Linked DNA regions of Homo sapiens: region 2 is linked to region 1. The links are contacts of gene promoters, found by promoter capture Hi-C in blood cells and fetal thymus (Javierre and others, 2016). All regions are on one chromosome and are shown on one strand. The core of a region is centred on a gene start or on the middle of the fragment in contact, and the rest is flanking DNA. Distances in the headings are between cores, read along the strand shown. Region 1 holds the start of THAP4 (THAP domain containing 4). Region 2 holds the start of KIF1A (kinesin family member 1A).

The links. The method cuts DNA at HindIII sites, captures the fragments that hold promoters and counts their contacts. A CHiCAGO score of 5 or more calls a contact.
Region 2: the fragment with the promoter of KIF1A here is called in contact with the fragment with the promoter of THAP4 in region 1 in 1 of 17 cell types (M2 macrophages); the score reaches 7.7 in M2 macrophages.

What each region holds. Positions count from the first base shown.
Region 1 is chr2:241,632,033-241,638,407 of GRCh38, reverse strand. It overlaps THAP4 (THAP domain containing 4), which reads left to right and starts at 1,250. Exons shown (of 6, transcript NM_015963.6): 1 at 1,250-1,467; 2 at 4,329-5,491. The coding sequence starts at 1,391. ATG4B (autophagy related 4B cysteine peptidase) reads right to left here and starts at 715. Exons shown (of 13, transcript NM_013325.5): 1 at 684-715. The coding sequence starts at 693. RefSeq lists silencers at 258-397, 438-627, 648-697, 1,068-1,417, 1,448-1,517 and 1 more and an enhancer at 167-1,094. The HindIII fragment of the contact is 17,924 bases long and covers 1-6,375 here.
Region 2 is chr2:240,818,952-240,825,326 of GRCh38, reverse strand. It overlaps KIF1A (kinesin family member 1A), which reads left to right and starts at 5,108. Exons shown (of 49, transcript NM_001244008.2): 1 at 5,108-5,205. RefSeq lists an enhancer at 4,122-4,696. The HindIII fragment of the contact is 8,764 bases long and covers 2,282-6,375 here.

The DNA.
Region 1 (6,375 bases), core at 1-2,500:
AAAAAAACCAACACTCCCTATACACACACACACACACTCCTTCTCTTTCTCTCTCTCTTAGGACCCCAAGAAACTAAGACCCGATGATACAAATTCACTGTTTCTCTTTCTCGTCACGGAAAAGCAGCTTGGAGAATCTACTGGTTACTAAATTGAAGACAAAAACAAAAAAGATACGTATACTGTGATGAACACGTCACGTTTCTCTCCTCCAACCTACCAATAACTTCATAAAAGTTAAAGAGCTTCCATCCCTTCACGCTCAGCTGCGGAAAGGCTACGCTTTCGCCCGCCGCTCGCGTCCCCGGCCCGGACCGCGGCCGCCCCGTTCGCCGCCGCGCCTCTCCCCGCCCGGCAGGCTCCGCCGCCCTCCACGGCCGACCTGGCGCAAGGGCCTGTGCAGCCACAACCTCCGGAGCGCTCCGGACGGGACCGGAAAAGCAGAAGCTCCAGCGCAACCGACGGCGGGTTCCGCGGCGCAGTGCGCCGCCGTCCCCCTCCCGCTCCCACCGCCCACCACCCACCAACACCGCCCCGCGCTCCCGCAGCGCCCGCCGCCCCGGCCCAGCCTGGCCCGCACCGGCGTGCCCCGAGGCGAGTCGCGGCAGCCCGACCCGAGCAGGGGAGGCCAATGATAAGGCGAGCACCTCCTGCGGAAAGACCGACCCCCGGCAACTCCTCACCTGCGTCCATCTTCCCAGTCCGGCCGCCGACTGACCCGAGCGGCGTCGCTCCGACGGGCCAGCAACGCGACGCGGCGACGGGACGCCGCGGGGGCCAATAGGTGTGCCGGCGCAGGCGGCGAAGACGATACGGCGCGCGAGCGGAAATACGCGGGAGCCGCCATTTTGGCGTACGGCCGGGCCGACGCGAGCCCCGGGGCGCCCTGCGGGCGGCATGGGGTCGTGTCGTGGGACGACGGCTGGTTCTGCTGTCCGACGGGACACTGTGTGCCATGGGTGGCGCTTCCTCCTCTTAGAGGACCCAGGAGCAGTTGTCGAGGCGGCAGAGGCGAGCTCTGTCCCCGTCCGAGCAGCCATCTTGCGGTACGGACGTGCTCGGCGCGCCCATGTCGCGGTACGGACTTGCCCCGCCGGGGCGACTCCCCCGCCCGTCTGCCCGCCTGCCGACGGACGCTGCGAGGGGCCTGCGGCGCCCCGCTGGTCCGAAGACGCCCGAACCCGCGGCTGGCGAGGACGCGGGCGGGGGCTGGGGCGGGGGCGGGCCCGCTGCGGGCGCCTGCGCCTCCATCTTGCCGTACGGCGCGGACGCCGCGGGCCGGCCCACGTCCCGAGCCGTGTCGCCGCCGCGCTCCCTCCCTCGGGGCGGTCCGCGGGCGGGCGGGCGGCTAGGGCCGGGGCCTGGCTGCGCGGCTGGGCCAAGGCCCGCGATGGTGATCTGCTGTGCGGCCGTGAACTGCTCCAACCGGCAGGGAAAGGGCGAGAAGCGCGCCGTCTCCTTCCACAGGTACGCGGGCCCCGGGCCGCCACGCCCCCGCCCCGACCCGGCCCTGCGGGGAAACTGAGGCCCCGCGGCCGGCCCGAACGCGGGGGGCGGGGGCGCCGGGCCTCGGCGGCCGGGGCGCGGGGGAGCGGGCGTGGGCGCTGTGTGACCTTGGCCCGGCCGCCGTCTCTGGGCCGGGCGCCTCGGGCAGCGCAGCCGCCCCCACCCCGGCCGCCTGGGTCCGCCCTGCGCGCGATCGATCCGGCCGGCGCCTAGGCTTCAGAAGCCGCACGCTCTGGAAGCGCAGGTCCTGGGCCGATTGTCCTGCTCGGCCGCGACTGCTGACTCTCCGGACCGCGCGGGCCGTCGGCCTGGATGTCTGCGAGCAGGAGCGACCGGGCAGACGCGACCTGCGCCTCCGTAGCTGACAGCCCCCGAGAGGGCTTTCCGGGACTGGGCCCCCGAGCCCAGGACGCGGGTACGCGCGGAGAGTCTACGGGACGGCCGGCTGGGGACGGCATCCTCCTGCGCTCCCTTAGAGCCTGGCCCGGGGCTCTCGGCCGCTTCCCACGTGGGCCCCCGCGGCAGGGCCCAAACCCCTCTAAGGCCTTGTGAGTTCAGCCTATTTCAGTGAGATTTCTGCGGATTACACGCGGGAGGCACCAGAACCGCGAACAGACTTTAAAAACCACTTTGGAGATGTTTCTGTTTTATGTTGCATGGTGTTATTTAAGTTTTAAAGACGGGAATGGCACGTGTTATTTATAGGGTTATTGAAAGTTCACAGTAGTTTGCTGTAAGTCTTAAATCATTACAATGTATTATAAGAATTAGTAACATTAGATTATTTCACAAGTCAGCCAGCGCACTTTCTTGACAATTTCCTTCAGAGCTTGTGTCCTAGAAGTTTTGTTATTGTTTTTTGAAAACGAGGCAACGTGTTGCAACGGTCTAACATGGTATGGGAGGAAAGGACATCGGAATTGGGGGTGGGGGGGTACCTTTGCAGTTGGCCTCACAGTGTTCAGAAAGGAGGTTAGAAGGTCCTGTTGCTTAGAACGGCCCAGTCCATCCTGTTAGGATTTGTCCTGGTCCACACTGGCCTCAGGTGGAGCAAATAGCAGTTAGAACTGACCACCCTGTCCCTTATGTGCACATTAGGGCCTGGTTTTTTTTTCTTTTTTTCTCTTTTTTTTGAGAAGGAGTCTCCCTCTGTCGCCCAGGCTGGAGTGCATTGGTGCGATCTCGGCTCACTGCAACCCCCGCTCCTGGGTTCAAGCTATTCTCCTGCTTCAGCCTCCCAAGTAGCTGGGATTACAGGCAAGCGCCACCACGCCTGTCTAATTTTTTTGTATTTTTAGTAGAGACAGGGTTTCACCATATTGGCCAGGCTGGTCTCGAACTCTGGCCTCAAAGTCCTGACCTCAAGTGATCCACCCGCCTCGGCCTCCCAAAGTGCTGGGATTACAGGCATAAGCCACCCCGCCCGGCCCAGGCCTATGTTCTTAAACACAGAGTTTGCCTTAATGAAGAAATGGTTATGAAGGATCTTTATTAGGTAATAAAGAAATGACTAAACATCCTATTCAGTATCTTCCTGCGCTGGTTGCTTTTTTCTCACCATTTTTAAATTATGGTATAATACATGTAACATGAAATTTACCATCCTAACTTTTTTTGGAGACAGAGTCCCACTCTGTCACCCAGGCTGGAGTGCAATGGTATGACCGTAGCTCACTGCAGCCTCAGCCTCCTGGACCCAAGTGGTCCTCCCATCTCAGCCTCCAGAGTAGCTGGGATCACAGGCATGAGCCACGGCTCCCAGCCTTTCCTACCGCTTTTTCAGTGTACAATTCATGGCAACAAATACATTCACGTTGTTGTGCAGCTGTCACTACCATCCACCTCCAGAATTATTTTTATTTTGTAAAGCGGAATCTCTGGACTCATTAAACATTAATACCCCAGTCCTCCTCTCCCTAGGCTCTGGGAACCCGCATTCTCCTGTCTCTATGAATTTGATTACTCTGAGTACCTCATGTGAGTGGTATCATGCAGTGTTTGTTTTTTTGCACCTGCCCTATTTCATTCAGTATAATGTCCTCAAGGATCATCTGAGTTGGTTGATTTTTTTTGAGGGGAGAAGACCGGGTTTCACTCTGTTCCCCAGGATGGGGAGCAGTGGTGCAGTCTTAGCTCACTGTAACTTCGAATTTCTGGGCTCAAAGAACCCTCAAGCCTCAGGCTCCCAAGTAACTGGAACTGCAGGTGAGCACCATTGTGCCCTGTCCCTGGGCTGGTTGACTTTTAAAAGGAGCATTTTTACTCCTGGAGGTGGGCATGCAACAGGAACACAGAACTGTAGCTCTGGAGTCTTCTGGAGGTCTCCAGATTCTCAGCTGCTTGCGCACAGCCAGGGCTGCCTCCATGCAGTCCTGACCTCTCACGCCCTAGTGTCTGTGGATGCTGGCCCTGGTTTTGGTACCCAGAGTCCTACCTTCCAGGCAAGTTGGGAGGGTTGGTTAGCAGTCAGCTTCTAGGAGCTATTTCCTGCTGTCCTGAGGCCATCCTGGCACTGTCTGTCAGCATCCTGTGTCCCCATTGGGCATTTACCACAGCCTGGGGAGCAGTTGGTTACCTTCTTTCCCATCCGCCCTACAGACTATAAGCTCTGTATGGGTAGACAACGGGTCTTTCAGATTTCTACTCCAGTAATAACTGCAGGTAGAAGATGTTCTTTAAATCTTTTTGAAGTATTTTTTTAAGTGGATGAAGTCAATACGGCTTAGGGTGCGTGCAAAAATACTTGTTTTGCTTTTACAGTTGATTATTTTAAGGGGAGACATTTAATTATTTCTAATTACTTTTTGTCATTTGTCCTGTAGGTTCCCCCTAAAGGACTCAAAACGTCTAATCCAATGGTTAAAAGCTGTTCAGAGGGATAACTGGACTCCCACTAAGTATTCATTTCTCTGTAGTGAGCATTTCACCAAAGACAGCTTCTCCAAGAGGCTGGAGGACCAGCATCGCCTGCTGAAGCCCACGGCCGTGCCATCCATCTTCCACCTGACCGAGAAGAAGAGGGGGGCTGGAGGCCATGGCCGCACCCGGAGAAAAGATGCCAGCAAGGCCACAGGGGGTGTGAGGGGACACTCGAGTGCCGCCACCAGCAGAGGAGCTGCAGGTTGGTCACCGTCCTCGAGTGGAAACCCGATGGCCAAGCCAGAGTCCCGCAGGTTGAAGCAAGCTGCTCTGCAAGGTGAAGCCACACCCAGGGCGGCCCAGGAGGCCGCCAGCCAGGAGCAGGCCCAGCAAGCTCTGGAACGGACTCCAGGAGATGGACTGGCCACCATGGTGGCAGGCAGTCAGGGAAAAGCAGAAGCGTCTGCCACAGATGCTGGCGATGAGAGCGCCACTTCCTCCATCGAAGGGGGCGTGACAGATAAGAGTGGCATTTCTATGGATGACTTTACGCCCCCAGGATCTGGGGCGTGCAAATTTATCGGCTCACTTCATTCGTACAGTTTCTCCTCTAAGCACACCCGAGAAAGGCCATCTGTCCCCCGAGAGCCCATTGACCGCAAGAGGCTGAAGAAAGATGTGGAACCAAGCTGCAGTGGGAGCAGCCTGGGACCCGACAAGGGCCTGGCCCAGAGCCCTCCCAGCTCATCACTTACCGCGACACCGCAGAAGCCTTCCCAGAGCCCCTCTGCCCCTCCTGCCGACGTCACCCCAAAGCCAGCCACGGAAGCCGTGCAGAGCGAGCACAGCGACGCCAGCCCCATGTCCATCAACGAGGTCATCCTGTCGGCGTCAGGGGCCTGCAAGCTCATCGACTCACTGCACTCCTACTGCTTCTCCTCCCGGCAGAACAAGAGCCAGGTGTGCTGCCTGCGGGAGCAGGTGGAGAAGAAGAACGGCGAGCTGAAGAGCCTGCGGCAGAGGGTCAGCCGCTCCGACAGCCAGGTGCGGAAGCTACAGGAGAAGCTGGATGAGCTGAGGAGAGTGAGCGTCCCCTATCCAAGTAGCCTGCTGTCGCCCAGCCGCGGTCAGTACCGGAGCCTCGCGTACCCATGTTCCCTTCCCGTTAGGAGGGGTTTCTCTGCAAGGTGGCCAGCGTCCCCTGAGCATTTCTGGGAGGTGTCACAAGCTCCCTGCGCTCTCAGGAGGAAGCTCTGGTCGTAACCATACCTTGTGGATGAGGGAATCCAGGTTAGAAAGCAGGCCTCACTGCACCTGGTCCCACAAGAGGCATCTGTGTGTGTAGGGATGTAGGCCGTGAAGGAGGCAGGCAGCACGCGTCAGCCAGGAGTGCCTGAACGCCTCCGTGGAGAGTGCACAGGGAAAGATAGCTTCTGTTTCATACCTTATGCAACAGAAATTCCAGATGAGTTAGGAACTAGATGGAAAATAAGAGAGTAAACTCTCAGAAAAAGCAAATATCAGAAACTGTTAAAATCATGAGGAGGTTCTTTCTGTTCACGTTTTAAGGAATATCCTTGAAGTTAAATCATCATGAACATTAATAATTATTTTAACATCTATTCAATTAAAACATCTGTTGAGGCTGGACTCGGTGGCTCACACCTGTAATCCCAGTACTTTGGGAGGCTAAGGTGGGCAGATCACTTGAGGTCAGGAGTTCGAGACCACCCTGGCCAATATGGTGAAACATACAAAAACATACTACTAAAACATACAAAAACTAGCTGCACATGGTGGTGCACGCTTGTAATCCCAGTTATTGGGGAGGCTGGGGCAGGTGGATTGCTTGAACCTGGGAGGCAGAGGTTGCTGTGAGCCAGGATTGCACCACTTCACTCTGGCCTGGGTGACAGAATAAGACTCTGTCTCCAAAAAAAAAAGACACACATCTATTGAAACACATTCTCAGCCGGGCATGGTGGCACACTCCTGTAATGCCAGCTACTC
Region 2 (6,375 bases), core at 3,859-6,358, 820 kb after region 1:
GGATGAAATCGACAGCCTCCACCACTGGGTCTGTGAGCTGCATCAGAGCAGGTGGCCCCGCACTCTTGGCTTGATGCTCTGCTGTCGCTGGCCCAAGATCCTTAATAATTTCATCTTTTGTGTTTTGTGTTGCCGATGGCATATTGAGGCAGGTGCAGAGGAGACGCACAAATCTCTGCCTGCTCCTGCAGCCCCATCCTGATCTAGTGTTCACAGTGCCATGGTATGGAGTTCAGCAAGACTCACTCCAGTGCCAGGTAGAGCAGGTCATGCCTGCAGCCCAGTGGGCGTGGCATGAGACAGCCCAGAAAGGCCACGTTTTCCATTTCAACCAGAACTTGTTCCAAATACAGAAAGGGGGCAATGGTGTTCTAAGGAACACAAAGGACATGGGACCCCTGTTGTATCTTTTCTTACTCATTTTACTTCCCTGTATTAGCCGAGCACTTTCACTGAAATGGTGGCATGGAAGGAAAGGGAAAGACAGGAAGACCCAGAGTTCTCCTTTTATCCCTCCTTCCTCATCAGTAAGCGGGAGGCAGAGAATGTTGGTGCCAGCATCAAGAAGTGAAATAGAAGCAGGCAAGTGAGTAGTGTGCATGGTTTTCATTGTTCTGGTAAGAACAGAAAACACACACAGATGAACTAGGAAATATGAGCTGTGTAATTTCAGTGATTCGGTGTATGAGTTGAAAGCTCTTCTATCTGCATTTAAAACTGGCATTCTACGATAGAAAGCTGAAGAGTAAAATTCATGCTAGCAATTTAAAATTTTAATTTTCTTTACTTAGAATGGCATTAAATAGCAAGAAAACACCATGGCTAATCAAGAGAGCCTGGGGAATGGAGGAAGAGGTTTGTATATTTAGCACCTTTAACTGCACTTTGCCAGGCTTTTGAACAAGGCGGCTTTATTTCATTTTGCACTGGGCCCCGCATGTTCTGTTACTGGGCCTTTTCCCACTGGAAAAATAGATGAGGTCTGTGAAGTGGGTGGAGGCTGCAGCCAGGGCAAGGGGGACGGGCAGGAGAGACACAGTTTAGTCCTGCTCTCCTGCCCGTCTTGGGATGGCCTGGACCACAGGAAGCCATCACGGGGACTGTTAGGGAGCTGCGAGGTCCTCCTGGGTGGGACGGCCCTGGAGACAACAGAGAGCTGTCCAGAGAGCCTCCTCTCAGATGCTACAGCATGATGCAGCACAAGGTAGGGAAGTGGCTCCTCTGTGGGCTCTGGGGAGGGAGGCAGCAAGGAGTGGTGATCAGTTTCAGGAAGGAGCCTGCACTCCAGGCCTTCCCTGTATGGGCCTGGCTTCTGTGCCTCCCCACTGCAGGCTGCCAGTAGAGCAGCTGCTGTCCCGACACCACTGGGCGCTCACAGGCCAGAGTCACTCGACGCCCAAGGAATATGGCCAGCTGGAGAGAAAAACATGCTCCCCGGGGATCCATGTCAGTCCATGTCTCTGTGGCATTAGAGGAGGGGCGAGTGGTGATTGGGAGTAAGCCCATGCAGGATAGAGGGGAGGGAGCAGGTGCAGGCAGAAGAGCTTCAGATCCTGAGGCAGGTCTGAGGCCTGCAAAAGAGACAGGGAAGGAAGGGGCTTGGGTAGGAAGAGTCTCAGACTGCAGTCCCCCTCCCAGAAGCTTTCGGCCAAGCTGATGGGTGTCCCTGATAAAGCTGCCCGTCGGAGGGGTCTTGAGTGGGACGGAGGGGCCAGCACTGGTATCTCAGACTCTGTCTTTGATGAGGAGCAGTCAGGGAACAGGCAGCAAAGCTTAGTCTTGATATAACAGTAATTGCTGTAAATGTAAGTGGGTTAAATTCCAATTAAAAGGCAGAGACAGATTACATTTAAAAATTTACACAATGGGTTGCCTAAAAGAGATACGCTTTAAAAAGATACAAAAAGCTTAAAATAAGAAAGTTGGCAAAAGACATAGCAAGCAAATATGAACCAAAGAAAACTGGATTGACATGTAATGTATGACATTCAAATTTAAGGCAAAAAATTTAAAAACTCCAAACGCCAGACAAAGAAGGGCACACATACATATGGGCGCAAGGAGCCACAGAATGATAATGCATGTCTATCACAATCATTCTAATATCTAAAAATATGGCCACAATACACAGCAAGCAACATGTGCCGGAACTGCTGGGAGAAGCAGATATTTTAACAATTCTAACTGGAAATTTTAAAAAATAATAAGCATAGTTCACATTGACAAAAATTAGCAGAAATCTCCAAATCCTGATCAAAATGATTAATAACCTTAAAAAGCTTTTCTATCTGGGATCTTACCTTACTGAGTCAAGAATTAATAATTTTGAACTAATACATAATATAGAGAACTCTCTGCCCATCAAGCAGAGAGTACAACCATTTTGAACACAGGTAGAACATGTATGAAATAGACTATGTGTTAGGACCTAAAGAAGCCTCAATGAATTCCAGAGGCACAGGGCCATGCAGACTGGGCAGCTAGTTTCTGTTTGTGCTTCTAAGTTCCCTTTGCCCATTCTTCAGGAGACCACCCGAAATGCACCATACTCCTTGGGTGCCCCTGACCTCCAGCTTCCCCTTGGGTTCAGCCAAAGCACTACCAGATCAGGGGAAGAGGGAGAGTGAGGTCCAGGGTTTGCTGCCCTGGCTCCCTTCCTAGGAAACTCTGGCTGGCTGCACCCCTCCACCTGAGCCTCTGCTTCTGCCCGCCCCGCTCCCTGCAGGCAGTAAGGCTGCAGTGCCACCAAGCCCCTGGGGCTCTCCGACCTCCTGCCCACACCTTTATCAATAGTCTCTTTATCAAACCCTTCTCAAATTACCCAATTTGAGTGTGCCATCTGCTTCCTGCCAGGATCTTGACTGAATACAGACTTGTTCTCTGACAACAATGCAATTAAATTAGAACCTGGTAACAAAAGGTTATAATTAAAGAAACACTATTGAAAAGTAAATAACATTATTAAATAACCCTGGGTTTAAAAGGAGATCATCAGGAACAGTAGAAAATATTAGATATGAATGATAATGAAAACATTTTATGTCCAAATTTGTGAGACTCAGCCAAGACAGTTCTGTAGAAGGAATTTTGTAGCTTTTAATACAGTAGATCTATTGGAAAATCAGAAGGCTTAAAAAGGAGCTAAGCATTTGGTTCAAGACAGAGGAACAGATCAAATCCAAAGAACCACAAAGGAAGGAAATAATACAGAAAGACAGAAGCAAATGAAATAACGGGAAAGACGTTTAACAGAACTAAAAGTTGGAGCTCTGAAAATATTTAAAAATATTAAAAGAGAAAAATGCAAAAAACAAAATACAGGCCAAATGCATGCCAGTAATCCCAGCACTTTGGGATGCCGAGGTGGGTGGATGGCTTGACCTCAGGAGTTTGAGACCAGCCTGTGCAACAGGGCAAAATCCTGTCTCTACAAAAAATGCTAAAATTAGCTGGGCGTGGTGGCACACACTTGTAGTTCCAGCTACTAGGGAGGCTGAGGTGGGAGGATTGCTTGAGCTGGGGAGGCTGAGGCTGCAGTGAGCCAAGATGGCACCACTGTACTCCAACCTGGGAGACAGAGCAAGACCCTGTCAAAACAAACAAACAAAACCATAAAAAGCCAGAATATAAAGAAAAAAAGATATGCTAGTCATTTAAATATTAACGTGAAATAGATTAATTCCTAGAAAAATGTCTATTGCCTCGAGAAATAGAGAACTTGCCAGATTAAAAAGCATGAGGAAAACGGAGGTGATAAAGACCCCAGCCCCAGAAGCCCAGATGGTTTTATTGTTTCTGCCAGGGTTAGGAAGAACAATTGATTTCTCTTTCATGCCGGCGGTTCCAGGAAATAGTGAAGGAGGAGGAGCTGTCTAGCTGGTTTCGGCGGGGCTGGGGCTGGGAGTGGGGGGCCCGTGTCTTGCAGAAGTGGATGTGAATCTCCCCCAGCCACCTGCAAGGCGCTCGCACGCAGCTGTCGGGACTGAGGTGAAGCCGGCTCTCCCAGGAGTGTGGATGAAATGGTTAACGGCGAGGCCGCTAGGGCAGCGCAGGCCCCTGCTGGGCGCCAGGGAGGCTTAGCCAGGCGACGCCAGGATGCCCATGGCAGGGGCTCGATGGCAGGGGCTGGGCTGGAGGGGACCCAGCCCCGGGGTTCAGGGTGGCCCGAAATCCGTGCACCCCCGCACCGCAGTGCGGGGAGGTTCCCATGGGCGAGCTGCCCAGAGGCTTTGTCGAAGTTGCCCAGCCCTGGGACGGTGGAGGGAGGACGGTGGCGCGCACAGAGATACCAGTCAGCCCCTGGAACTAGGAAGGCGGCTGGGGGCGGGTGACGCAGGCTGGGGTTTGCCGGGGTGGCCCCCGAGCGGCGTGTGACTTGGGGGTCCAAGGAAGTTAAACTGGACAGGCTGGGGTGAGGACAATGGGGGCCTGGAGAGGTGGGGCGAGAGGAGGGCGGGGGGTCCCCACGAGCCGCGGTAGAGGCGAGGCGGCGGGTCCGCGGGCGGGTTGCATCATCCGGCGGGGAGGGCCTGGGTCACTGCTGCTCTTCCCCCGGCGCCCCGGCCCCGACACAAGATGCGATTTCACCGCGCACCTGTTACACCCGGAGCCAGCATCCCTGGCGCAAGGAGCCCTCCCTCCCCAGCCCCGCCCGCCCCCCACGATGCGTCTGTCGCTGGCTCAGAGCGGGGGCAGGTGGACGTTTTACGATTTCACTCGAAAGGGGCCAGGGTGGGGGACGGCCCGGCGAGGGGTCCGCGGGCAAGTTCAGGTGCACGCGGGGCTTCGGGACGGGGCGCCGCCGGGTCCCTCCCCCGCGAGGTCTCAGGGGCACGCCGGGGGAGGGGACGCTGCGTCCGAGCCGGGTGTCGGTCCCCCACCCTCCGCGGGGCCCGCCGCGGTGTCAGCGGTGACGTCACAGCCCGGCCCCGGCCCCCTCCGTCCCCAGCCCCATCCCCGCGGCGGCCGCGTCGCCCGTCCCTCTCCCCGCGCGACAAACCAGCTGGCGACTGGAGCTCGGACGCCGCGCGCAGCCAACCAGCGCCTCGGGAGGGGCGCGGGGCGGTCCGGGCCGGGGGCGCGCAGCCCGTCACGCGGCGGCGCCGTCACAGCGCAGAGCAGCCGGCGAGCGGCAGCAGCTCCGGGCTCGAGAGCCCGCGCCCATGCCAGTGCCCATGCGGGGCCGCCGCCAGTGACGCCGGAGAGGTAAGGCCGCCGCCCGCCCGGCCTCCCGCGCCCGCGCCCCTCGCCCCGCACCTGCGCCCGGCAGCCCGCGCCCGCAGCCCGCACCTGCACCCACTGCGCCCAGGGCGGGGAGCTCCGGCCCGGCGCCCTTGTTGCCGCCCAAAGCGCAGGCACTGCGAGGCCCCTTCACTTCCAGACCTTCCTCCATCTCCGCAGAGAACAATGGGGGAAATTCAGGGGTGTCCGCCCTTCAGGTGCCGCTGGAAAAGGTCCCTTTGCCGCGATCTCGGCTGCAGCGGGACCCTCGGCTTAGGCGGGCGGGGGTCGCCCTCGGGAGGGCTCGCCCGGCCGGCGGGATCGGGATACCCCCGCCCTTCCCCGGCTATTCCGCTTCCCTGGAGAGGAGCCACCGGCGGGGCTGCGGGAGGGGCTGCGCCCAGACGGCGGGGGAGGGGAGGGATGGTGAGCGGGGCTGAGGACGCTGACGCCGCACCTGGGAGGGTGCGCGGCTGCAGCGCCTCGGCCCGAGGGGAGAGCGCGCAGGGCGGCCGGGCGCGGGCAGCTGCTCCGGTTCCCGGGGTGGGGGAGGGCGGATGCTGGAGCCGGGAGCAAAACAGGCGGGCGGGGCGGGGGCTGCGGCGTTGGGGCCTGGCCACCCGCTTCGTTGCACGGCCGGCCTGCCCATCACCCCCTCCCACGCCAGAGACCCCAGCTCCCTTCCAGAAAGACCCAGCACCTGGGAGGGGCCGCCGGCGAGCACTGCCTGCGTCTCAGCAGCCAGCGCCCCTGTAACAGGTGTGGCCCGGCGGCGAGGGAGGGGCTGCGGGGCCGCAGGGTCTAGGCTGGCGGCGCGCCCCCGGCGCCCGGGCTCGGATGACACGAAGGAACAGTGGCCGCGAAGACCTTCGCACTCCCGCTTTAAGCCGCTCCTCACGCTGACTTCCCCCAAACCAGCCGCGCTGCCCTCTCGCTGGGAAGGGCCGGGGCAGCATCCCCGCCGGGAGGGAGGGTCCGCAGGAGCGGGGCGCTGGGCGCCGGTAGGTGGGGTTGGGGGGGCCCTGCCGGCCGCAGGGGCGGGAGGGGGAGGGGAAGGAGGGAATGCCAAGTCATGGGGCCTGCTGGGCGCGAGCGCGACGTCGCCCGGCGCGGACCCGATGCGCGCCCACGTCCCCGGGAATAGGGACTTTCCCC